Linked DNA regions of Homo sapiens: all the other regions are linked to region 3. Evidence: promoter capture Hi-C in 16 types of primary human blood cells and fetal thymus (Javierre and others, 2016). All regions are on one chromosome and are shown on one strand. Each heading gives the region's core, a stretch centred on a gene start or on the middle of the fragment in contact. The rest is flanking DNA. Distances are from core to core; before and after follow the strand shown.

Region 1 (3,073 bases), core at 398-2,897, 1.2 Mb after region 3:
CTCACTGCAAGCTCCGCCTCCCAGGTTCACGCCATTCTCCTGCCTCAGCCTCCCGAGTAGCTGCGACAATAGGCGCCCGCCACCACGCCCAGCTAATTTTTTGTATTTTTAGTAGAGACCGGGTTTCACCGTGTTAGCCAGGATGGTCTCCATCTCCTGACCTCATGATCCGCCCGCCTCAGCCTCCCAAAGTGCTGGGATTACAGGCGTGAGCCACCGCGCCTGGCTTTTTTTTTTTTCTTGAGATGGAGTTTTGCTCTTGTTGCCCAGGCTGGAGTGCAATGGCACGATCTCGGCTCAGCGCAACCTCCACCTCCCTGGTTCAAGCAATTCTCCTGCCTCAGCCTCCCAAGTAGCTTGGATCACAGGCATGCGCCACCACGCCCGGCTAATTTTATATTTTCAGTAGAGACGGTGTTTCTCCATTTTGGTCAGGCTGGTCTGGAACTCCTGACCTCAGGTGATCCGCCAGCCTCGGCCTCCCAAAGTACTGGGATTACAGGCGTGAGCCACCGCGCCCAGCCTCTTTTTCATTTAATTCTTACAGTCCTGTGAGTTAAGTGCTATTATTATCTACATTGTACATTTTACAAGCAAGGAAATCAAGGCTTAGAGATGGTAAATAGAAATGGTTATACAGGCAGTTGTTTAAGGCAGGATTTAAGCCAGGCAGCCAGAGCCCACTTCATGCTGCATTTGCTGGCAGCAAGGGAAGGATGGAGGGGGTCTGGGCTGAGAAAAGGGTGTCCTGAGGCCCTGACCTGAGGCTCTACAGTCACTCTCCAGCTCCAGTCCCCTCCGTGCTGACCCCCAGGCCTCTTGACGAACTCAGTGGTGAGCCTTAAGGCCCCATCCTGGATGTGTTGGCGCCCGAAGGAGAGGCCGTCGTGGAACTCCCAGCCATAGGGACCCACACCGTCCCCCTGCTCACACGTGTGCCTGAGCTTAGGAGTCCCCGGGGTGGTGCCCTGCTGCGCCCACATCAGTCCTGGGGGTAGAATGGCCACGTAAGTCAAAGAGCAGGGGACCTGTCCCTCCGGGTCTCCGGGTCATCCCTCTTCATAACTCTCCTGATCCATTCCTTCCCACCCTTGCTCTCGCTTCAAGCTGGGGCGCCCAGATTAGGAGTCCGCCTGCCTGCCCGCCCTGGGGCCCGGTTACCGGTGAGGAGGGGCTTCGGGCTGCGGGTCTTCATGCCGAAGTAGACGTGAGGGCGGTAGGTTCCCCAGAAGAGGTCCGGGGCCACGGCGGGGCTGGAGGAGTCGGCAGGCAACACAGGAGGCGCGGAGTGCAGCGTGACCGCCCGCCGCGCACGGTACCACGCCAGCACCCAGCGCCCCGACATACCCAGGGCCAAAGACAGGACCACGACGGCCAGAGCCACTCCTCCAGCCGTGCTACGCGGCCCGCCGCCCCGGCCGTCCCGTCGCCCGGGGCCTCCCCGAGCCGCCCTCTCGGCTGTCCGCACTCCCTCTGCCGGCACTGCGCGGCGCCGCCGCTCGCCCCGAGCCATCCTGGCACTGAGGTCCGCGTCACAAGAGCTCGGAGAGGCGGCAGTGGAGCCCGGGTCCTGCCTCACCTCTCCGGCTCCCGCCTCTCGCCCTGGCGACCACCGTCCGGTTAGCGACACCTGCCAGCCAGCGCCTGCGCCTCCGCCTCCGCCTCCCGCCGGAAGTCCCGCCCCGCCACGTTAGGTTAAGTCCCAGAGTCCGGAACCGCTGCCTGCGGCTTGACACAGGGTTGGTACGTAGCGTCTGTCCTGGGCGTTGGTCCACCGGGATTGCGTTTATCTGGCGACCCCATGGAGTTCACAGGCTCGGAAAAACCAATCTAACGTTGGGCTGAGGCATGAGAATCGTTTGAACCCGGGAGGCGGAGGTTGCAGTGAGCCGAGATTGTGCCACTGCACTCCAGCCTGGGCGACAGAGCGAGACTTCGTCTCAAAAAAAAAAAAAAAAGACTGATGTGGCCAGGCACCGAGGCGCACATCTGTAATCCCAGCACTTTGGGAGGCCGAGGCAGGTGGATCACCAGACATGAGGAGTTGGAGACCAGCCTGGTCAACTTGGTGAAACCCCATCTCTACTAAAAATACAAAAATTAGCCGGGTGTGGTGGTGGGTGCCTGTAATCCCAGCTATTCGGGAGGCTGAGGCAGGAGAATTGCTTGAACCTGGGAGGCGGAGGTTGCAGTGAGCCGATATTGCGCCATTGCACTCCAGCTTGGGCAACAAGAGTGAAACTGTTTCAAAAAAAAAGAAAGAGAGAGAGAGAGAGAGATGGAGGGAGGGAGGGAGGGACGGAGGGAGAGAGAGAGAGAGAGAGAGAGACTGATGCTTTATGCAACACGACCACTTATATTTCACTATAATCTGACTGGTGGCCCCACTCTCCACTAGTGGTAGACTTTTTGCTTATGAAATCATCTGACCAAACCCAATGGTTAGTCCTGTTTTTGTCTTTCTTGCTACCGTTGCATTTGTCGACATCCTTATTGTAGCACTTATTACATACCTGTTTCATTTTTCATCTTTGTATCACAGTACTAATCAATTATAGGCATAAGGCAGATGCTAAATATTTATAAATTCAACACATGTTTATTGTACACCCTATATCGCATTATGCAAGGTGCTGGGGACTCAGAGAAAATGGCCCCAACCTCAAGTTCACAGTCTAGAAGCACAATGCCAGCACTCAATGCATGTTGAACCATACCCATTTTTTTTTTTTTTTTTTTTTTGAGACGGAGTCTCGCTCTGTCACCAGGCTGGAGTGCAATGGCATGATCTCGGCTCACTGCAACCTCTGCCTCCAGGGTTCAAGTGATTCTCCTGCCTCAGCCTCACGAGTAGCTGGGATTACAGGTGCCCACCACCACGCCCAGCTAATTTTTGTATTTTTAGTAGAGATGGAGTTTCACCAGGTTTGCCAGGCTGGTCTCGAACTCCTGACCTCAGGTGATCCACCCACCTCGGCCTCCCAAAGTGCTGGGATTACAGGCGTGAGCCACCGCGCCTGGCCAGACCACCCCCATTTTTACAGATGAGGAGAGTAGTTAAGACTGACCCAAA
Region 2 (2,951 bases), core at 23-2,522, 1.3 Mb after region 3:
AAAAAATTAGCTGGGCATGGTGGTGGGCGCCTGTAGTCCCAGCTACTCAGGAGGCTGAGGCAGGAGAATGGCATGAATCCAGGAGGTGGAGCTTGCAGTGAGCTGAGATTGCGCCACTGCACTCCAGCCTGGGCAAGACTCCGTCTCAAAAAAAGAAAAAAAAGAATAAAGTATTAGCCCTTCCTCACTTTTTGTCCTTCCCTCATCTTTGGCCTTCTGCCTACGTGAGTCCTACCAAACCCGTCACCTCAAGCTGCCACTCAGCAATTAGTCCTCAAGAGGCCCCTCAAAGTCAGGTTGGTGACTCACTGTCTTGCAAGCCAGGCACCAGCTTATACACGATGTCCTGCATGACCCGGTCCAGTTTGAGGTTGAGCAGTGGCTGTGTCTCGTGGATCTTAATGTTGCACATGGGGCAGTACTTGCTAGTTTGGAGGTACTTCACAATACAACTCTTGCAGACTGCAGGAAAAGAAAAGCAGATTCTCAGGCCCTCTGGAAACTGGATTCATGGGCTGGGTGGGGTGCCTGGATGCGTGAGGCAGGCCGCACAGAAGCTGGCAGTCAGCTTGGTGAAGACTAGGGACTGGAAGAACTAGGCAGTCTCCAAGGCACTCACAAGTATGAAGACACTCTGTGATGGTGGTGGCATCCACGAAGTAGCCGGCGCATAGGCAGCAAACAATGTGTTCATTCAAGTCTTTGATCTTCACTCGAACCTCCTCCTGAAGATACACCCTCCGTCACCAATCATCCACCCTCAAACCCCAACCCGTGCGCCTTCCCACCTTGGGGGTCGCCTCCTTCATCACACTAGACGGCCAAGCCCCGCGCCCTGCGCCATCAGCCGGGGATTAGCTCCTGGGGGCTGGCACTCCCCCTCCGCCCAGCAGAGGGCTCCGCGCACAGCGGGGGCTTCCCTCACGTGGACTCGCCTGACCCTCCTTTCCCAGGGGAGACTACACAACGTCGGCGACACAACGCGCAGGCGTCCTAACCGGAGTTTGGCAACCCGATCGCAACCACGCAGGCGCACTGGGCACTCTGTCTCTGCGCAGGCGCACTGGGCGCCCGGCCAGCCACCGCCCGTCCTTTAGCCCGCCCCAATTCGCACCGCTGGCCGACCACAGCAGTAACCCTGCCGCCCTTGCACCTCGTTCCGTAGCGGGTCCATCTTGTACACTGACTGGAGCTGGTTCCGAAGCCTCATCGCGATCGCAATCTGGCCCCCCTGAGGAGACGCCATCTTAAAGGCTGATCCCAGCCGGCCACTTCCGGTGCCGCCTGCAGGGCGGGACTTGTCTCCCAGCAACGAGGTTCTAGGTCTTTTCGGATTCGCTCACCCTCTGTAAGGCCCCGCCCACGTCCCTTTCTCCCTGTGTGCTCACCTGAGCCCCACCGGCCCCTCCCCTGCTCAATCCGTAATTAAGGAGTGGGGGGGGGGGAGCACAGGGAAGGGTCTTATCTCTTCAACCTCCTGTAGAAATCATCATAATAGGCCCTACGCGACCTCAAGACTAACTTTCGGAGCCTGCGAAAGACTGCCCCCTCCTACCCCCAAAGGCCTGGCAGTCTGTGCCCGCTACCCGCTCAGGGTCGTCGGTCTTCTGTGACGACGACCCTGCTGAAGAAGCCCCTCCTGGGTCCTCTCCTCGTAATGCCGCCCTGTCGGCGTCCGCGTAGCGGAGCTTCGTCCAGATGGCGGGTCTTCTCCCGGCTTCACGGAGGGAGTTTCTTGGGCTTTGCAGAGTCTCGGAGAGGGTGCCGGGGGATGGGGAGTGAGAGACCCCCAGGGACTTGGTAGTGATCTTATTCCCCCATTCTCCCCCCTGCTGCCGGGGATGGGGGGGGCAGGCCCTGGTTAATGATGATGATTTAATCATCGGCGCCTGCGGAGGCCTGGGACAGACTAATGCAGAGCAGATGCCGAAGGAGGAGGGGAGGACGACTAGGACACTGCCACACACAGACAGGCTTAGGCAGCGAGCGCCTGTAGTAGCATAGGCCCAGTCCCGCACTTGGGGACTACGCGGGGTGCTCGCTCGAGAGCTCTACACCGCCGGCTCTGGGTACTTAAAAAGGGATAAATTTGCTATGAGGTATTAACATCAAATGCAACTGGAGATACGAGAAGGGAGAGATTCCAATGGAGACCTCAAAAAAGGCTTTCTGGAGAAAGTGGGACTTTGGGCACAATTTAGACTTGGGGGAGGGGGTGGAAGTGTGGTGAAATAGAAAGGACGTGGAGGGGAATGACCAGAGGACAGGAAGGTCAAGATGTAGATTTGAGAGTGGTAATAGAAAAAGCAGGGCCATAAAGAGTTGCGATTTTTAGCCTGAGGGCAATTGGGAGCTAGCGGACTTTTTTGAAGGGAGGTTATCCTGTGAAAGCGACATTTTTGTTCATTTCTCTTCAGAGTGAATTGAAGTGAATATGCAGCAAGAAGTTATGAGATTAGTGATTAATCAATTATTCGTTACAGCCCCTGTTTACCTACTTCCCTGGTCCGAGCCACTATCATCTGTCCTCTGTAGTGGCCTCTTGACTGTTTTCCTTGAGTCCCCCTTCGCCTGTTCTCAACATCACAGTTGAGTGCTGTTTCTCAGAGCTAGTGATTCTGATAAAACATGAAACACAAAGGACAAAGGACAATTTTTGAGATGTGGATATGTTTATTATTTTTATGGTGATGATGGTATCATGGGTATATACATATGTCAAAACTTATCAAATTGTACACTTCAAATATTTGCAGTTTATATGTCCATTATACTTCAAGAAAGCTATTAAAAATAAAGTTGAAAAATTAGGTTGTTCCTTTTTTACGTTTAAAACCTGTTGAGAGCTTCCCTTTTCAATCAGAATGAAAGTCAAAGTCTCAGAGTGGTGTGCAAGGGCCTGCATAGTCTCTTCAGATACACCAGGATATCCTTCCACTGTGTCCCCAACT
Region 3 (3,033 bases), core at 515-3,014:
GGCGCCATCTCGCCTCACAGCAACCTCCACCTCCCAGGCTCAAGCGATTCTCATGCCTCAGCCTCCCAAATAGCTGGGACTACAGGCGTGCGCCACCATGCCTGGCTAATTTTTTTTTGTATTTTTTAGTAGAGAGGGTTTCGCCATGTTGACCAGGCTGATTTTTTTTTTTCATTTTTTAAATAGGAATGGGGTCTCGCCTTGTTGCCAGGGCTTGTGATCCTCCCACCTTGGCTTACCAAAGTCCTGGGATTACAGGCGTGAGCCACCGCACCTGCCCTGGATTCATAATTTTTAAATATCTGCCTCTTCCACTTTGTAACTTCATTCAGTGAAGAGTCACCAGTGTCTTGCACAGTGGCTACAATATAGGGATAGCCCTATAAACTTTCCTGAATGGGTGAACAACTATATCTAGCTCCACAGCACCGATGAAGAGAATTTCCAGACCACTAGATTTTTCTGGGGCATGGGATCTTCTCCTCAGCACCAAAGTTTAATGTTGTACCTGGACTTGAGTCCCTGGTTTCCTTAACCCAGAGAGACTGCGGAATGTTGAAAGATAAAAACTGCTGTCATGGGCGGGCGCGGTGGCTCACGCCTGTAATCCCAGCACTTTGGGAGGCCGAGGCGGGCAGATCACGAGGTCAGGAGATCGAGACCATCCTGGCTAACACGGTGAAACCCCCGTCTCTACTAAAAATACAAAAAAATTAGCCGGGCGTGGTGGTGGGCGCCTGTAGTCCCAGCTACTTGGGAGGCTGAGGCAGGAGAATGGCGTGAACCCGGGAGGCGGAGCTTGCAGTGAGCCGAGATCGGGCCACTGCACTGCAACCTGGGCGACAGAGCAAGACTCCGTCTCAAAAAAAAAAAAAAGAAAAAAAGAAAACTGCTGTCACAAGTCTGTTAGTCTATCAACAAACTACCAAGTCACTACTGTGTACCAAGGATGGCATTAAGGCTTTAGCTGTCTTTGTTTACTGCCCAAATCACAGCCATCAGTTAGAGCTCCCATGGCTTGGCACTGGGCTATACAGTCCTGGGAGTGGGGACTCCCTCTCGGATACAAATACACCCCCAGAAAGCCTTCCTGGACTAGCGTCAAACTCACTCCCTCCTCCCCAACCCTTGCTTGCCTTTGTGTGTGCTTATTTGTGTAAGTTGTGGGTATACGTATGTGCTCACTTATGTGCATAGATGTATACATTTATGTGCTTGTGTAGGTGTAAACGGTTTGTGCGTGTGTGCCCACGTGTAGGAATGTGTGCTCCTGTGTACATGTGAATGCTCACATACATATCTCCAGCCTGTAGTATCCTTCCTTAGCTGTCCCTTCTGGTCGCACCCTAAGTCACCTGGGTCGGCGCTAGTGGGCGGGGAGGGGCGAGTGGGGAGATCTGCTTTGTCGTGGGAAGGTGAGGAGTCAGAGCTTCAGCCTCAGGCTGCGCCCACTTTATGTCCTTGGACCACCACCCACTTATTCCGGCCGCCCGCTCCCAGACCTGTCCTGCTCTGAACTCGCAGGGTCCCCAAGGTGACCCTTGGCCCCCAACCCGAGACGCGCGCAAGCTGGACGGCCAGCCCCGCCCTGCAACGCAGTCCCACCCGTTGCCGCTCACCGTGGGCCGCGACGCACGCGGGGAGCCAGAGCACGAGACAACACCAGCCCGCGGCGCCGGGGACCATCTCCAGGGCCGGGCCCGGCCCGGCGCCGCGTTTCCTCTCGCCGCCCCGCCGCGCGTCGCTCGCAGGACTTCAGCCTGACAGCTGCTCCGGCCTCCCGCCCACATACCCGCTCTCGCCGCGGGCTGGACGACGGGAACGAGGCTCAAGGCTGATTGGCTCTGACGCCTGCTCATGTAGCCACACTTTCCGCCTCTGCGCCTTAGCCTACTTCCTATTGGTCGAGAGAAGTGGAGCCGGGGGCTGATTGGCTTAAACTCTTAACAGCTACAACCGGCCTTCGCCTCAGCCCCGCCCCAGCATACTCTCCGGGTCCTCGCTGGCGGTGGGCGGGCCAGGGAGGACAAGCACTGGAGGTGTGCCCGTAGCCGGACTTGCTTCAGCTGTCGATAGTCGAGGCCGTTAACCCTTGCGGTCTCGGTCCTGTCCACTCCAAGGCCGCCTCGATTGACGACGATTAGCCTTCTCCCAGCTGCGCTTCCCTCCTCCCAGCTGCGCTTCCCTCCTCCCCACGCCTTCACGGGAAGGCACTCGTCTTGCGCCAGGGGGTCTTCCGCCCAGTGCCACCAACGCTTGCGCGCTCACCGTGGATAGGCGCTGGGGCCGCGGCCTGGCGCACGCCATCCACGAGGAGCCTCTGGCCAGTGCAAAGCCAGAAAACGGGCATTGGGGGCAGCTTCCCACGCTCGTCCCGTTGACACTGACTATGTAACTGTGACACTGGACACCTTGACCTCTCAGCCTCCTTTCTGTCATCAGTAAAATGGCCTTAATAGGACCAACGCAATAGGGTTGTGAGGATTAAATGAGATCGCTCACGTAAAGTGCTTTGGCACCAGCCTATCCCACACTTTGCGTCCCACACTTTTGCCTTTATTGCATTCCTTGGTCTGGCGTCCGGGGATGGAGGAGGGTGGAATTAAGTTAGTAGGTGATGCGGGCCGAGCAAAGACCCTCCGTGCTCTAAGAAGCACGACCGAAATGCGGCGACCCCTCTTTAATGAACGCCCCTCACTAGAGAGTCCCCGAAGCCCAGCCTCAGGTCCTTCTAGCCGCACCGAGTCGGTGGTAACGAACCATAGAGTAGCGGAAGTGGTCCGTTCTCTTCCTCTCCCGGCCCAAGCTTCTGGGTATTTCTATTGCGCGAGGCATTGTGGGTTGCTGGGCGGCCCGGTCTCGGAGAAGAGGGGAGAGTGGCGGGCCGCTGAATAAGCTTCCAAAATGATGGTGAGTGGCGTCTCGCGCATCCGTCGCCATCAGCTGCCATCTGGCCGGTGGCCGGCGCCGCTCGGCCTGGGCTTGCTCTGTAGGACCCTCTTTTGCTTGCCGCCTCTGTCCTCGCCCAGATCC
Region 4 (2,879 bases), core at 27-2,526, 1.4 Mb after region 3:
ATGAATTCTCCCTGCAAACTGGTTAAAACTGGAACTGGGCCTTGAACCACTCCAAACCACCAAGTTATGCCCAAACTAAAAACCCTCCAAGGACTTCCAATTACACCACTGGAAACAGAATCCAATATCTTTACCCTGGCCCTAAAGTTCTGCTTGTGCCTTCTGCCCAACTCTCCATCCTCACACTAGGCCCTCCCCTGCCCGCACCCCGGGAGATCCACCTCTCACAGATCGGCTTCTCGCTGTGTCTGCCTCTGCGGATGTTCTGTTCCGTGCTGAGCATTCTAGGTTAGGGCCCCTTTACAAGCCCTCATTCACTTTGTCGCGTGATAAACGATTCAATGGTTCTCCCTCTGGCAGGGCCCTATTAAAGATTTCGTGGGCCCTAAGGCACTTTCGTCTTCGTGGACCCCTTCCTCCATTAAAAAAAGATTAAAAGAAGTTAATGGATTTTGTAGGCCCTAAAAATCTCATTTCCCCCTCCTGATGTGAGAAAAAAATCAAAACACTTTCTTTGACTTCATGGGTTCACTTTAAACGAAATGAAAACATTCTCGTGGCCGGGCACGGTGGCTCACGCCTGTAATCGCAGCACTTTAGGAGGCCGAGGCGGGCGGATCACGAGGTCAGGAGTTCGAGAGCAGCCTGGCCAACATAGGGAAACCATGTCTCTACTAAAAATATAAAAAAATTAGCCAGGCGTGGTGGCGGGAGCCTGTAATTCCAGCTTACTCGAGAAGCTGAGGCGGAGAATCACTTGAACCCGGGAGGCGGAGGTTGCAGTGAGCCGAGATCACGCCATTGCACTCCAGCTTGGGCAACAAGGGTGAAACTCCGTCTCAAAAACAAAGCAAAACCAGAAGAAAAAAAATTCTCGTGGCTCCCTGAAGCCTCCGTGGTCCCTCGGCATGGCGCCTACCGTGCCTGGCGGATCAGCAGCCCGGCCCTCGGGCCTGGGGGCCCCGCGGAGGAAGCTCCGGGCCCAGACTCCGCGCAGGCCTGGCCGCCCAGAACAGTATGCGGAGGGATGACTCCGACAGCGATTTCGGAGCCTCTCTCGGCGTCAGTCTTGCGCCGGCACCCGCCACGGCCAGCGCAACCAACACCTGCCTGAGGACTGGCCCGAGCTCGGCCCACGCCCAGCCCAGCCTGCGAAGTGGTGCCGGCTGCTCTCGGGCTGCCCTCCCTCCCCGAGGCGTGGAGAACCGTACCTGTCTTCGGAAGACGGAGGCCCCCTCACCTGGTCCTCCCGGCTCTCAGCGTGCGCCCGCGCGTTCGGAGGCGCCCCCCTCAGGCCGGCGCGGCTGGGCGGGAGGCTCACTGCGGGCAAGGCGGGGCCTGGCTGCCTCAGGGTGCGCTTCAGGTGGCGCTTCAGGAAAACGGTCTCCAAGTCCCTAGATACCCTGAGAACAGTCCTTCTTTGTCCCTTAGGTAGAATTTTGTCTATTTGTTGGAAATGCTGTGCTAAACCTGACATTTTTCTTTTTCTACCCCTTCCCATGAAACATGCCAGTAGCTCCCCCACCGACCGTTTTCTTGGTTTTAACTTTTCCCTTCCACATCATTTCCTTCAGCCAGTCGCTATTTTGTTCACTAAACATCTGTGGTGGGCACGTTATGTGCCACGCATTGTGCTAGGATTGGAGTACAGTGGATGTACAGACAATGGTCACTGCCCTCATGGAAGTTATAGCTGCCTTCACAAAGTTCTTTTAAGTCTTTTCAAACTCCTGTATTCCAAGAGGGTCTGTCGCTCTCTTCATACTCATTCTCGCTTACTTGAGGTTGATTCCCATAGTCCCTTTGACGAACTCCAGATGGGGTAGGAGCGTCCTGGTCCTTAACAGTTGGTTGGTCTGGGTCTTCAACTCTGGTTAAAAAGGAATTCTCTGAATTAGTCCACAGGAGAGGGAAAGATAATGCTAGTTCCAAGCTAGAAATGTACAAGCAGTTTTCCTTGTTTTCTTTATTATTATTATTGTTATTTTCTCAGTTCATTGTCTAGATGCAGGTTGGAGGTGGGGTGGGGCAATATTTCAATGAGTGGCACAGGATAGGTTAGATGTTTCAACAGGAAAAGAGTTGCCTGCTTGTATTCTAGTCCCACTAAACCATTTTGCTCCTATCAACTGTTCCTCAGGTAAGAACAGAACTATTTAACCTATGTCCTTTTTTAAACACTATAATCTGATATTCAATAGAGTTCCTGTGTTTCAGTTTAAAGGGTAGCTTCTCAACAGCTCTTTCCCCCCATATAGTCCAAATTAGCCTTTCTGTCTCTAATCTCCAGATTATCGTTTCCACTGATGTTAGAATTGTCCTTGTAAAAATATTTTGATCATATCATTCTTTGTCTTAAAAATGGCTTATGTTTCCTTTTCGGTTAGAGGGTCCATTATAACTGACCCCACCTACCTTACTAGGCTCAACCCCAGCATTACCTGTCTTACTCCCCTTTGTGTTGCTATACCAGAATACCACAGAACAACTAACTTGTAAATAAAGGAAATGTATTCTTAAATTCTGGAGGGTAGGAATTCCAAGGTTGAGAATCCCACATCTAGTGAGGGCATTTTTTCTGTGTCATCCCATGGCAGAAGGCAGAAGGGCAAGGGGTACAAAAGAGCAAGACAGCAATAGGGAGCTGAACTCACTTTTACAACAAACCCACTCTCTCAATAACTAACTCATTTCCAAGATAATGACATTAATTCATTTATGGGGGCAGAGCCCTTATGGCCTAATCACCTCTTGTTAGGCCCCACCTCTGAACACTATTCCATTGGGTACTAAGTTTCCAGCAAATGAACTTTGGGGGACGCATTCAAACTTGAGCACTAGCCTCACTCCAAACCATACCACCCATTGCTCCTACCTAC
Region 5 (3,179 bases), core at 298-2,797, 1.6 Mb after region 3:
CTTTGATGCTTCTATGCTTGTGGAGTAACTTTCTTATCCTATGTGATCACTTGAATTCAGCCCTCTACCAGGAGGGTGTGCCCTGCAGACACAAGTGATGAACATTTGCTTATTCATGTATTATGTATTTTCTGCTTGCTTACTAAAAGGATTTAGTGATTTGGTTCAGCTTTCAGTAAAAAGATTTCTAGAACGAGAGTCATCAAACTGGCGAGATGATTACTGAAAAACTTGACAGGCCAGGTGTGGTGGCTCATGCTTGTAATCCCAGCACTTTGGGAGGCCAAGATGGAAGGATTGCTTAAGGCCAGGAGTTTGAGACCAGTCTGGACAACGCAGTGAGACTCTGTCTCTACAGAAAAAATAAAATTAAAAAAATCAGCTGGGTACGAGGGTGCATACCTATAGTCTTAGCTACTTGGGAGGCTGCAGTGGAAGGATCATGAGCCCAGGAGTTTAAGGCTGCAGCCTAGGAGTTTGAGGCTGCAGTGAACCATGATTGCGTCATTGCACTCCAGCCTGGGCAGCCGAGCAAGACTCTGTCTCTAAAGTTAAACAAACTTGACGAAGCTCCAAGCTTCCTGACAGTCAAGGCAAAAAGGATAGTTAGTTCTCTTTGAGTCAGTCGTTTTCATCCCATCGGCCTATAACAGGTAGCACAGTGTGTCTGGGCAGCCAGACTTTCTCCTGACACTAACCCTTACTGGGGACTGAATGGCTAGGGAAGCATTAGTGAAAGACACAGCAGCTTTACCTGGTGCAGTGGTCTTTATAGTCTTTCCTGTGAGCCCTTGATTAAAAGTGATAGAACTAAACCTATGAAGCATTTCATGGGGAGCTAATGTAATGTTGTGAAGGTGAGGAGCTTTCTGTTCCTGGAATTGGTAATTTCCCAGGGTCTTAGGGGCTTGCCCATGCCTCCTGAGCCTTTTCACACTGCTGTCTCTAGGTAAGCATTTATCTGCTAAGGTGGCTGAGCTCCAAAAGTATCCCCTTTGATTGCCAGTCTCTCAGGCCACTTAAATCTGTGACACTTCCCATGGGCTGCCTTGTATTGTGCCCGACATTCTTATTAGACAAGACTCATCTCTCCACGCATTCTAGAGACACTCATTGATCTATAATATGAGCCAGCTTCTTTGATATAAAGTCCTAGAGAGCAGGGCTGTTGATTTCTTAAAATTTTTAAGAATTGTAATAAAATATTAATCACAAAATTTACCATTTTAACCATTTTAAGTGTACAATTTAGTGGCATTAAGTGTGTTATTCACATTGCTGTGCAACTACCACCACTATTCATTTCCAGAATTAATTTCTTGTAAAATTATGTTTCTGTACACTAGTGCTTTGTATTTAATAGCTGTTCCATAAATGCCATAACATGGAAGATGCTGGGGTTGCAACAGTAGTCAGGATTCAGGGATTGAATGATACGGATCTTACAGACTTAGACATTGAAATTTAAGGTTTCGTTTCGTCTACACTTCCCTTTTAAAACCCTTGAGTACCTTACTCAAGGTAGGATCTGTAGTACTTCATATAAAAACTGTCAAAATTGGAATATTGCTGTCTTCTGGATGTAAATAATTTGATCAAGGCCAGGTTCCCACAGGGACCAGATGGGGTGGGCTCAGGATCCAGGCAGTGGCACCAGTCTTTCAGTTGCATTGGGCCTGCAGAATGAGATGGGCGCTTCTGGGCCAGAAGGGTTGACATTCATCCAGGTGATCCAGATTCTAGTTTCAACTGTGTGACCTGGGTCGAGGCTGCTCCCCGATGGGCCTGGTTTCTCTGAGATCCCTTTCTTGCAGTCACCTCCAGGCCTTTCCTTCCTGGGCTTCCCCATACCTGGCCAGGACTGTGTATGGCCCACCCTGCACACTGCATACTTCGAAGTGGAGCCTCCATGAATGTCCCCTTTTGTTCTCTCCATTTGTTGCTTTGTGACAGTGACACAATTTCCTCTCCTTTTTTAAGTGCTGGTCTGGAGGAAAATGCAGGTACTTAAGGGGATGGGTGTTAATGGCTTCCCATTTTGGGTATTATCTTATTTCCTAGAGAGTATGGGGTTAATTTGTCTTTAGGGCTTCCCCTGACACCAACCCCAATTCTGTAGAGGAAGTGGGCATGTCAGACTGGTATGTTATGGGAAAAACTGAAACTGACCAAAATTACCCAATGAGGAAGCTCTGATCTAACCCTTGCTGAAGAAATATCAACTAACAGTGCTATCTCTGTCTAACACGCCCTCGCTTCCTGGGCTGGCAGCTTGGCAGGCAGACGGGAAGGTAACCCGTTCTTCAGCCAGGCTTTGCTCTGGCCTGCCTCCGATTCCCCAGCCTGGAATGCCCCCTCCTCCTTTCCTCCTCTCCCAGATAGAGATTTAAAGAGAAGCAGCCTTGTCCATGCCCATCACAGAAAGAGAAGGAATAGTTTGGGGAAACAGCCTCTGCTTTGTGACTAAGGAGGGTTGAGAAATGTCTGTGATTGCCTGAAGGTGACCCTGGGTGGAGAGAAGCTTTAGAAGAAAGAAGGGGTGGAAGGAAAGGGGGGGTGATAGAGAACTCTTTTGTCCCCACAGTTATGCTAATGACTCTGTCATGTGGGGCTATTCATCCTGTTTTGTGGCAAGGAAGCTGGGGTTCAGATGAAGAGTCCTCTAATGTCGCACACCTGTACGAACGCTACCACTAGGATTTGCATACTGGTGTTTCTGATGCCAGAGCACTCCTTTCACCACCACCAGCTACAAATCAAGGGTTGACCTGAATGAGTCTGCTTTGATAGTATCCAGAAACTTACATCTCTTAAAAACAAATGCAGAGTTTGTCTTCCCAACTCCCAGCAGGCTGGATCAACACAGGATTACTTCACAGGGTCACACCTGGCCTAATATCTTAACCACCGACTCTCAAAGATTCCAGGCAGAAAAGTGATATGCAGTGTTGATCAGAACAGGGCCAACCACGATCACGTTATTGGCATATTGGAAACCTCCCAGAGGAGAGGGGAAGGTGTTTGAGCCCCAGCCTTAGAGGTGTCATTTGGTTAGTCTGGAATGGATCCTTGGAATTCTTACTGTTTTCTTTAAAAGCTCCTCATGTGATTCTGATGTGCAGCAAGTTTGGAAACTCTTATCACAAGTGACAGAATGGAGATTAGGCAGAAGTATCAGA
Region 6 (3,063 bases), core at 281-2,780, 1.3 Mb after region 3:
CCAGCCTGGGCAACATGGCAAAAAATATAAAAATTAGCCAGGCGTGGAGGTGCGCGCCTGTATTCCCAGTTACTTGGGAGGCTGAGGTGGGAGGATCACTTGAGCCCGGGAGGTTGAGGCTGCAGTGAGTTGTGATTGCACCACTGCACTCCAGCCTGGGTGACAGAGTGAGACCCTTTCTCCAAAATAAATAAAATAAAAAAGAGTGAGTTGGGCTAAGGGAGGGTATGGTGAGATGCCAGAGGAATGGGTTTGTTTCTACTGAATAAGGGGAATTATATTCGGGTAAGGCCTGCAGAGGCCCCCACCTGAGCAGGGTGTTGGGCCCCGTGCAGTCCTCCTGGGGGATGCTGTATCCAACCTCATGACCCAGGGTCAGGTCCATCTCATCAGCAACCCGCAGAGCCAGGCTCCGGGCTGCAAGAGGGTAGGGCTGAGTAACAGTAACCTGTCCTTTCTGGAACCCTCTGGCCAGCGCAAACTCTGCACACCACTGAGGGATCTGGGATAGAAGTAGGGAAGGAGAGCCAGTGAGGAAGATGTAGGACTTCAGTCAGAAGTGCTCAGGGAACTATGGCCACTTTAATCTTTCCTTATTTGGGGAGTCCCCTGGTCTTTCACCAGCCTCCAGGGCCAACCTAACCCATCCCATCTCTCTTCGTTCACCTTCCTCATGACCCCACGCAGCCCAGTCCCCCCTTGCCCAGGGAAAGGCCACTTTCCCTTTGTCCTCCCTTTGTCCTCCCTTTGTCCACTCCCAGAATCTGCCTGCCCCCACAACCCCCACCACACCTGGGTGCTCTTGCCAGAACCAGGCTCCCCAGACACCAGCACCACTCCAGTGGGGTTACTCTCCAACTGCTCCAAGAAGGTAAAGCGAGCAGCCCAGATGGGCAAGGCTTGGCGCTGCTTCAGCAGCTCATAGTAGCGGGAAGAGAAGGGAAGCCCATCAAAGGGGTTCACAGCCAGTTCAGACTCCCCAGGACTTGGGCCATACTCTTCTGCTAGCCTGAGAGGCTGAGAGGTCATGGTGGCTCTCTGGCAGGACCTGCAGAAGGCAGAGCAGCCAGTAAGGTCATATTTGGTGACCGACACCATCTTCCCACCTCAGCCCTGATCCTTAACCTCTACCTTCAGTTGATCATGCTCTGGGGCCCACCCTTCCCAGCATTTCCTGCCAGGAAACAGTGCTAGGTATTTTGATAAAGGGCTACTGAGAGTTAGTCGACAGTCCCTATAGTCAGGTAGTAGAAATCTACCTGAGACTATTACCCCGTTGGCAGGTAGTAGAAATCTTACTTAGGCAGGGGTCCTCAAGGGCAGTAGAAATTATGTGAGACCTAGTAACCTGTGGGAAAGTCCTGAAGGGAAAAGGATAAAGAATATAGGGGGTGGGGAGAGGAACAGCAGAGTCACAGGGATCCTGGATTCAAACCTGCTTGCAGCTCTAGGACGTGTCAGGACGGCAGTCAGCTCCAGACCCACGTAGTCACCACCAACCCTGACCGTGTGAAGTACAAAGGTAAATTCCGGCTCTACCTCAGGGATGGGCTCAAACTTCAAATCCTGAAGCCTGCTTTTGGGGTGGGGCTATTTGCTCCACCTTATTTAACCTAGTCAGGAACCTATGGAAAACAGGCTCCAGCTACCACACTGAGCATGTGTGAACTCTATAGATGATGTGTAGTGTGCTTGTGAAAGGCATGCTGGGACTTGTAGTTTTGCAGCAGCTTCCTCCAAAACCTGGGCTGATCACCCAAGCTGGGTCTTCAGTTCAGTTACACTTCCTTAATTTATCACTCATCACTTGGCATGAGGAGGTGATTTTAGACAGTTGCAGTCTGACTACCCCCTTCAAATGTACGAGAAGACTCTCACCCCCATCCCCCGCAGCCAAGGAATAAGGAACCCACTCACAGGGCTTTTGAGACCGAGAGAGACAACAGATGCCTTGAATGAAAACCATGAATTTAATGTGACATTGGGGGAGCCTCATCCTTCCCTTTTTACCACCCACCCATCCAGCCTGTTGTGAGTTGGGTGAGGGCTGCCCCCAGTCTCCGTCCTGCGGCTCTGGGTGCCATCCTGTTCCTTTGAGCTCAGTCAGCCTCCTGGGCTCGTCTCTCTGTGAATCTCCTGTGGGACATAGGGAGAGATATTATTCAGGCTTTGCCGTAGTAGCTCCATAATTCCATTCTCCAATTTGCCACATCCTATTAATTGTCCTCTAACCCCCTCACCTTCTTGCGTATTCATATAGTGCTTGCTTGCGCTCCTGCAGGCTCTCCTGCCGGGCCCAGGAAGACTTGGCAAATGTTAGGGCTGTTGGCTGAGGGGTCACCGGGCCAGAGCTGGGAAACTGAGGTGATCACAATGTCAGAGGGCTTGCGGAGTCATCATCATTAAACACGCATCGAATGCCTACTTTGCAAGAGAGGCACTATGCTAGGGTCTCAGGATCAAAAAAGAAAGGTCAGGGATAAGGGAGTACATAGCCTGCCCCCAACTCACCCCAACACTTGGATCTGACCATTTCCTGGGTCTCACCTTGGAGGCAGAGGCTGTGGGTAGGGACTGAGTTCCCTTGGTGATGTCTTCAGGCATGAAAGCTACGGCCCCCTCAAGCAGATTAGTGATAGTCAAGTCTACACAGCCAGTCTTGGCTGGGGAGAAAAGAGAAGGGAGTCCACTCCCTACTTACTTTCTTCCTTCACAACCCACTTTTCCTCCCTGTGCCCATCTCCCAGTGTGGGGCCACCCTTTCCCATACCCAGGTCTCTCTGGATGACACCCAATGGCACATGGGGCAAAACTTCCTTGACTCTCTGAGCCAGAGTTGCCAGTTGCACATCAGGAGAAGGACCAGGGGAGGGAGGGAAAGAAGACTGGGCTGTGGAAAAAGGAAAAAAAGAAAAAAGAAATTCTGGTAAGTAGAGAACTAGAAGGAGAGGCTAACTAGCACAGAAATAGGGGAGGAATCACAGTAGGCCGAAAAAAAAAAACCCCAAAAGCTGTAATGTATAGAGACCACATACCTGACTGGGGGCGCAATCTGGGGTGTCT
Region 7 (2,851 bases), core at 138-2,637, 1.2 Mb after region 3:
AGGCAAGAAGGCATGCTTCCTCCAAGACTCGGGACTGGGGTGGAAAGCAAGACTTTGCCTTGAAAGCTCAGAAGCTATAGTCTGAACCCAGGGGTGTTCTTTCTAAAGGGCCTGCTTTTGCCTTCAGGATGGCAGGTCAGTGAGTTGGCCAAGGGGAAGGAAGAGACCCCAGCCTTCCCAAACGCCCACCCAAGCCCATCACTCACCCTGACCCAGTGCCTGACTCAGCTGTTGCGCTGTTGCCCTGGGGTCCCTCCAGGGTCCCAGATTTAGGTCCAGACTCTGAGCACAGGCTGCCCACAGCAGGGTCCAGTATTGGCTCCACAAGGCCCCAGCCCCTCCGAGCCCTAGTCCACAGCTGGCTGAACCCGCCACGCCCCCGACCAGGCCCAGCAGCCCTGGTAGCAGATCCCCCTCCTCTTGGCACCGCCTGCGGAGCTGGTCCCTCAACGCCGATCCTTGGAGCGCCTCGTCCAGCCGACTTGCCACCTGGCAACCCCGCTCCCCCGTCAAGAGGCGGAGCACACGGGACGTGGGGAAAGGACGTGCGGCCCCTGGGACGTGGCTCAAGGCTTTTCTCTGTAGTGTGTGGTAGGCGGGAAGTGCAAAGAGCAGCTCGGCGAGTTGGGACGACAGGCCCGGGCTGGCGGGCTCCCGGCCGAGAGCGCGAAGCTGCATCTCGATGACAGCCTCCAGGCACTGGGCGGCTAGTCCGATGGGGCGCGCTAGCAGCAGCGGCTCGAGAGTCTCCCCAGGGCCGATTCGCAGAACCGCCCCTTGGGAAGGGTGCAGCTGCAGGTCGCGGCACCACTGGGGCAAGGGGCTAGGGCCGCCGGATGGCGAGCCAGGACTCAGGGTCTTCATGAGTCGCACAGCCGACTGTAGGTGGTAGGCGCAGTCTCGGGCCTGGAGGAGCTGCTCCCGCTCGCGATGCAGCCGCAGCAACACCGCCCGGAGACGCTGCAGCGCGGGAGGGATCGGGCCGCCACCTGCGGGCCCCCGCCTCCAGGCCGCAGCATCAGCCTCGTAGTCCTCGCTCACATCCGCCGGCGTCGGCCACCACGGCGTCCCTCCAGAAGTTCCGCTCGGCCAGCAGTGAACCTCCCAGCGAAGACCGCCCGTTCGACTTCTCTCCCACTGCTCCTCCCCAGTGCCCCCGGGTTGCGCCCTCAGCGGGGGCACGATAACGAGTGGAGGCAGGCTACCTGAGCGAGACGCCTGGGCCATGGGGCGGCGGGTCCAGAACGAACCTAACGATTCCCACTTCCCTGCACGGACCAACGCCCGCCGCAGCTCGGACTTCGCCCCATCGCAAGAGCCGTTTTCTCCAGTCCGGGAGTCGCGGGGACCTTCATGGACTCTCTCGTGCTCCGTAATGGGAGGCTTCTGCCCCTAACAAACATGGCCGCCCACTCTGTCCCACCCCGCCCTTTGGCTGGTATCAAATACTAGACTACCTTTCATTTCCGGGTCACTGTAGATGCGATGGCGCCGATTCCAAAGACTGTGGGGCGGATCAAGCTAGGTGAGCGGTATGACAAGACCAGTGGGGGTCTAGGAGGGCAGAGGCAGCCCCTCTTGGGTCCACCTGTGGTCTGAACGTTTCGAGTAGGATTTTATGCAGAGGGCGGAGAGTCGAGGGTAGAGTGGGGAGGACTCTAGCCCATCTGTCCCGAGCCCGCTGACGAGGCTCCGCCTTCCTTTCCTGTAGACTGCTCTCTACGGCCCAGCTGCCCACTGGAGGTCGCTGCTGCACCCAAACTTTGCAAGGAATTCGGTCCAGAGGATTACGGCGAAGAGGTAAAAGCGACCCTCAGTTTCCCCCAGTCCTGCTCATTTTGGTCACGCCTCTTTGAAGTCAGCTGTGCAGAAACCCGCGACGGATGGGCGCCAGACGGGGCTCTGGAGGCTTTGGGGAGTTGTAGTCTCCGGCCATGCCCTTGAGGATCTTAGGCAAGTGAGGGGCAGGGGATCAGGAGGATGATCCTGATGTAACAGATGCTCGAAGTGGGTAGAATTGAGCAGACAAGGGTCTCTGAGTTGAGGATTAGGGAGTGGGTACGAGTTCCTTGGGAAAAGATGGAGGCCGGGCGCGGTGGCTTGTGCCTGTAATCTCAACACTTTGGGAGGCTGAGACGGGAGGATTGCTTGAGCCCAGGAGTTAGAGACCAGCCTGGGCAACATAGTGAGACCCCATCTCTACAAAAATGTTTTTAAAAAATTTAGCCCGCGTGGTGGGTGGGGGATCTCTTGAGCGCGGGAGGTCAAGGTTTCAGTGAACCATGATCGTGCCACTGCACTCCAGCCTGGGGAACGGTGAGACTCTGTCTAAAAAAAAAAAAAAGCTGGGCCCAGTGGCTCACACCTGTAATCTCAGCACTTTGGGAGGCCTAGGGGGGCGGATCACTTGAGGTCGGGAGTTCGAGACCAGCCTGGCCAACATGGTGAAACGCCATCTCTACCAAAAATACGAAAAACTAGCTGGGCGTGGTGGTGTGCGCCTGTAATCCCAGTCACTGGGGTTACTGAGGCAGGAGAATCGCTTGAACCCGGGAGGCAGAGGTTGCAGTGAGCCAAGATCACACCACTGCACTCCAGCCTGGGCAACAGAGGGAGACTCCATTTCAAAAAAAAAATGAAAAAATATCTTTTTATAGATGGAGGGGACAGTGTGAGCAAAGACAGTAAAACAAGGAAAAGTTGAGAGAACTTTACCAAAGTGAGACCAGAGTAGAGAATCTGGTTGGAACAGTAAAAGATGGGGTGGGAGAGAAGGCAGCAGATGGCTTGAAAGGCTTTGACTTAGCACAGGGGTTTGGATGTTCTCAAGTAGGCAACAGAGTTTTTTTGT

Evidence for each region. Contacts are between HindIII fragments. The CHiCAGO score rates a contact against its expected background, and 5 or more counts as called.
Region 1: a contact is called between the fragment with the promoter of MOGS here and the fragment with the promoter of PRADC1 in region 3, in 10 of 17 cell types (naive CD8 T cells, non-activated CD4 T cells, fetal thymus and 7 more). The highest score is 17.8, in naive CD8 T cells.
Region 2: a contact is called between the fragment with the promoter of PCGF1 here and the fragment with the promoter of PRADC1 in region 3, in 3 of 17 cell types (fetal thymus, total CD8 T cells and monocytes). The highest score is 8.0, in fetal thymus.
Region 4: the fragment with the promoter of M1AP here is called in contact with the fragment with the promoter of PRADC1 in region 3 in 3 of 17 cell types (naive B cells, non-activated CD4 T cells and neutrophils); the score reaches 7.2 in naive B cells.
Region 5: a contact is called between a fragment that was not itself captured here and the fragment with the promoter of PRADC1 in region 3, in 2 of 17 cell types (total CD4 T cells and naive CD4 T cells). The highest score is 6.8, in total CD4 T cells.
Region 6: the fragment with the promoter of DQX1 here is called in contact with the fragment with the promoter of PRADC1 in region 3 in 5 of 17 cell types (activated CD4 T cells, fetal thymus, non-activated CD4 T cells and 2 more); the score reaches 9.5 in activated CD4 T cells.
Region 7: a contact is called between the fragment with the promoter of CCDC142 here and the fragment with the promoter of PRADC1 in region 3, in 5 of 17 cell types (neutrophils, non-activated CD4 T cells, fetal thymus and 2 more). The highest score is 10.9, in neutrophils.

What each region holds. Positions count from the first base shown.
Region 1 is chr2:74,463,735-74,466,807 of GRCh38, forward strand. MOGS (mannosyl-oligosaccharide glucosidase) reads right to left here and starts at 1,648. Exons shown (of 4, transcript NM_006302.3): 1 at 1,162-1,648; 2 at 762-988. The coding sequence starts at 1,513. RefSeq lists a silencer at 1,215-1,434. The HindIII fragment of the contact is 14,256 bases long and covers 1-3,073 here.
Region 2 is chr2:74,506,423-74,509,373 of GRCh38, forward strand. PCGF1 (polycomb group ring finger 1) reads right to left here and starts at 1,273. Exons shown (of 9, transcript NM_032673.3): 1 at 1,154-1,273; 2 at 620-725; 3 at 310-462. The coding sequence starts at 1,246. RefSeq lists enhancers at 536-1,466, 1,103-1,282, 2,023-2,082. The HindIII fragment of the contact is 5,812 bases long and covers 1-2,951 here.
Region 3 is chr2:73,231,475-73,234,507 of GRCh38, forward strand. PRADC1 (protease associated domain containing 1) reads right to left here and starts at 1,765. Exons shown (of 5, transcript NM_032319.3): 1 at 1,620-1,765. The coding sequence starts at 1,686. It overlaps CCT7 (chaperonin containing TCP1 subunit 7), which reads left to right and starts at 2,834. Exons shown (of 12, transcript NM_006429.4): 1 at 2,834-2,910. The coding sequence starts at 2,905. RefSeq lists a silencer at 1,812-2,021 and enhancers at 2,309-2,840, 2,482-2,531, 2,652-2,721. The HindIII fragment of the contact is 3,259 bases long and covers 1-2,804 here.
Region 4 is chr2:74,647,054-74,649,932 of GRCh38, forward strand. It overlaps M1AP (meiosis 1 associated protein), which reads right to left and starts at 1,277. Exons shown (of 11, transcript NM_001321739.2): 1 at 1,212-1,277. The HindIII fragment of the contact is 10,572 bases long and covers 1-2,879 here.
Region 5 is chr2:74,847,159-74,850,337 of GRCh38, forward strand. All of the region lies in intron 1 of HK2 (hexokinase 2), which reads left to right. Among named protein-coding and RNA genes, the nearest start is that of HK2, 15 kb to the left of the region's middle. RefSeq lists an enhancer at 2,798-2,937. The HindIII fragment of the contact is 1,944 bases long and covers 576-2,519 here.
Region 6 is chr2:74,524,701-74,527,763 of GRCh38, forward strand. DQX1 (DEAQ-box RNA dependent ATPase 1) reads right to left here and starts at 1,531. Exons shown (of 12, transcript NM_133637.3): 1 at 1,436-1,531; 2 at 793-1,048; 3 at 309-502. The coding sequence starts at 1,029. AUP1 (AUP1 lipid droplet regulating VLDL assembly factor) reads right to left here. Exons shown (of 12, transcript NM_181575.5): 8 at 3,036-3,063; 9 at 2,771-2,890; 10 at 2,548-2,663; 11 at 2,241-2,359; 12 at 1,952-2,136. The coding sequence ends at 2,100. RefSeq lists an enhancer at 1,629-1,798. The HindIII fragment of the contact is 10,114 bases long and covers 1-3,063 here.
Region 7 is chr2:74,481,611-74,484,461 of GRCh38, forward strand. CCDC142 (coiled-coil domain containing 142) reads right to left here and starts at 1,388. Exons shown (of 9, transcript NM_001365575.2): 1 at 207-1,388. The coding sequence starts at 1,227. TTC31 (tetratricopeptide repeat domain 31) reads left to right here and starts at 1,471. Exons shown (of 13, transcript NM_022492.6): 1 at 1,471-1,525; 2 at 1,712-1,800. The coding sequence starts at 1,486. RefSeq lists enhancers at 531-630, 701-820, 931-1,470, 1,791-1,900. The HindIII fragment of the contact is 7,623 bases long and covers 1-2,851 here.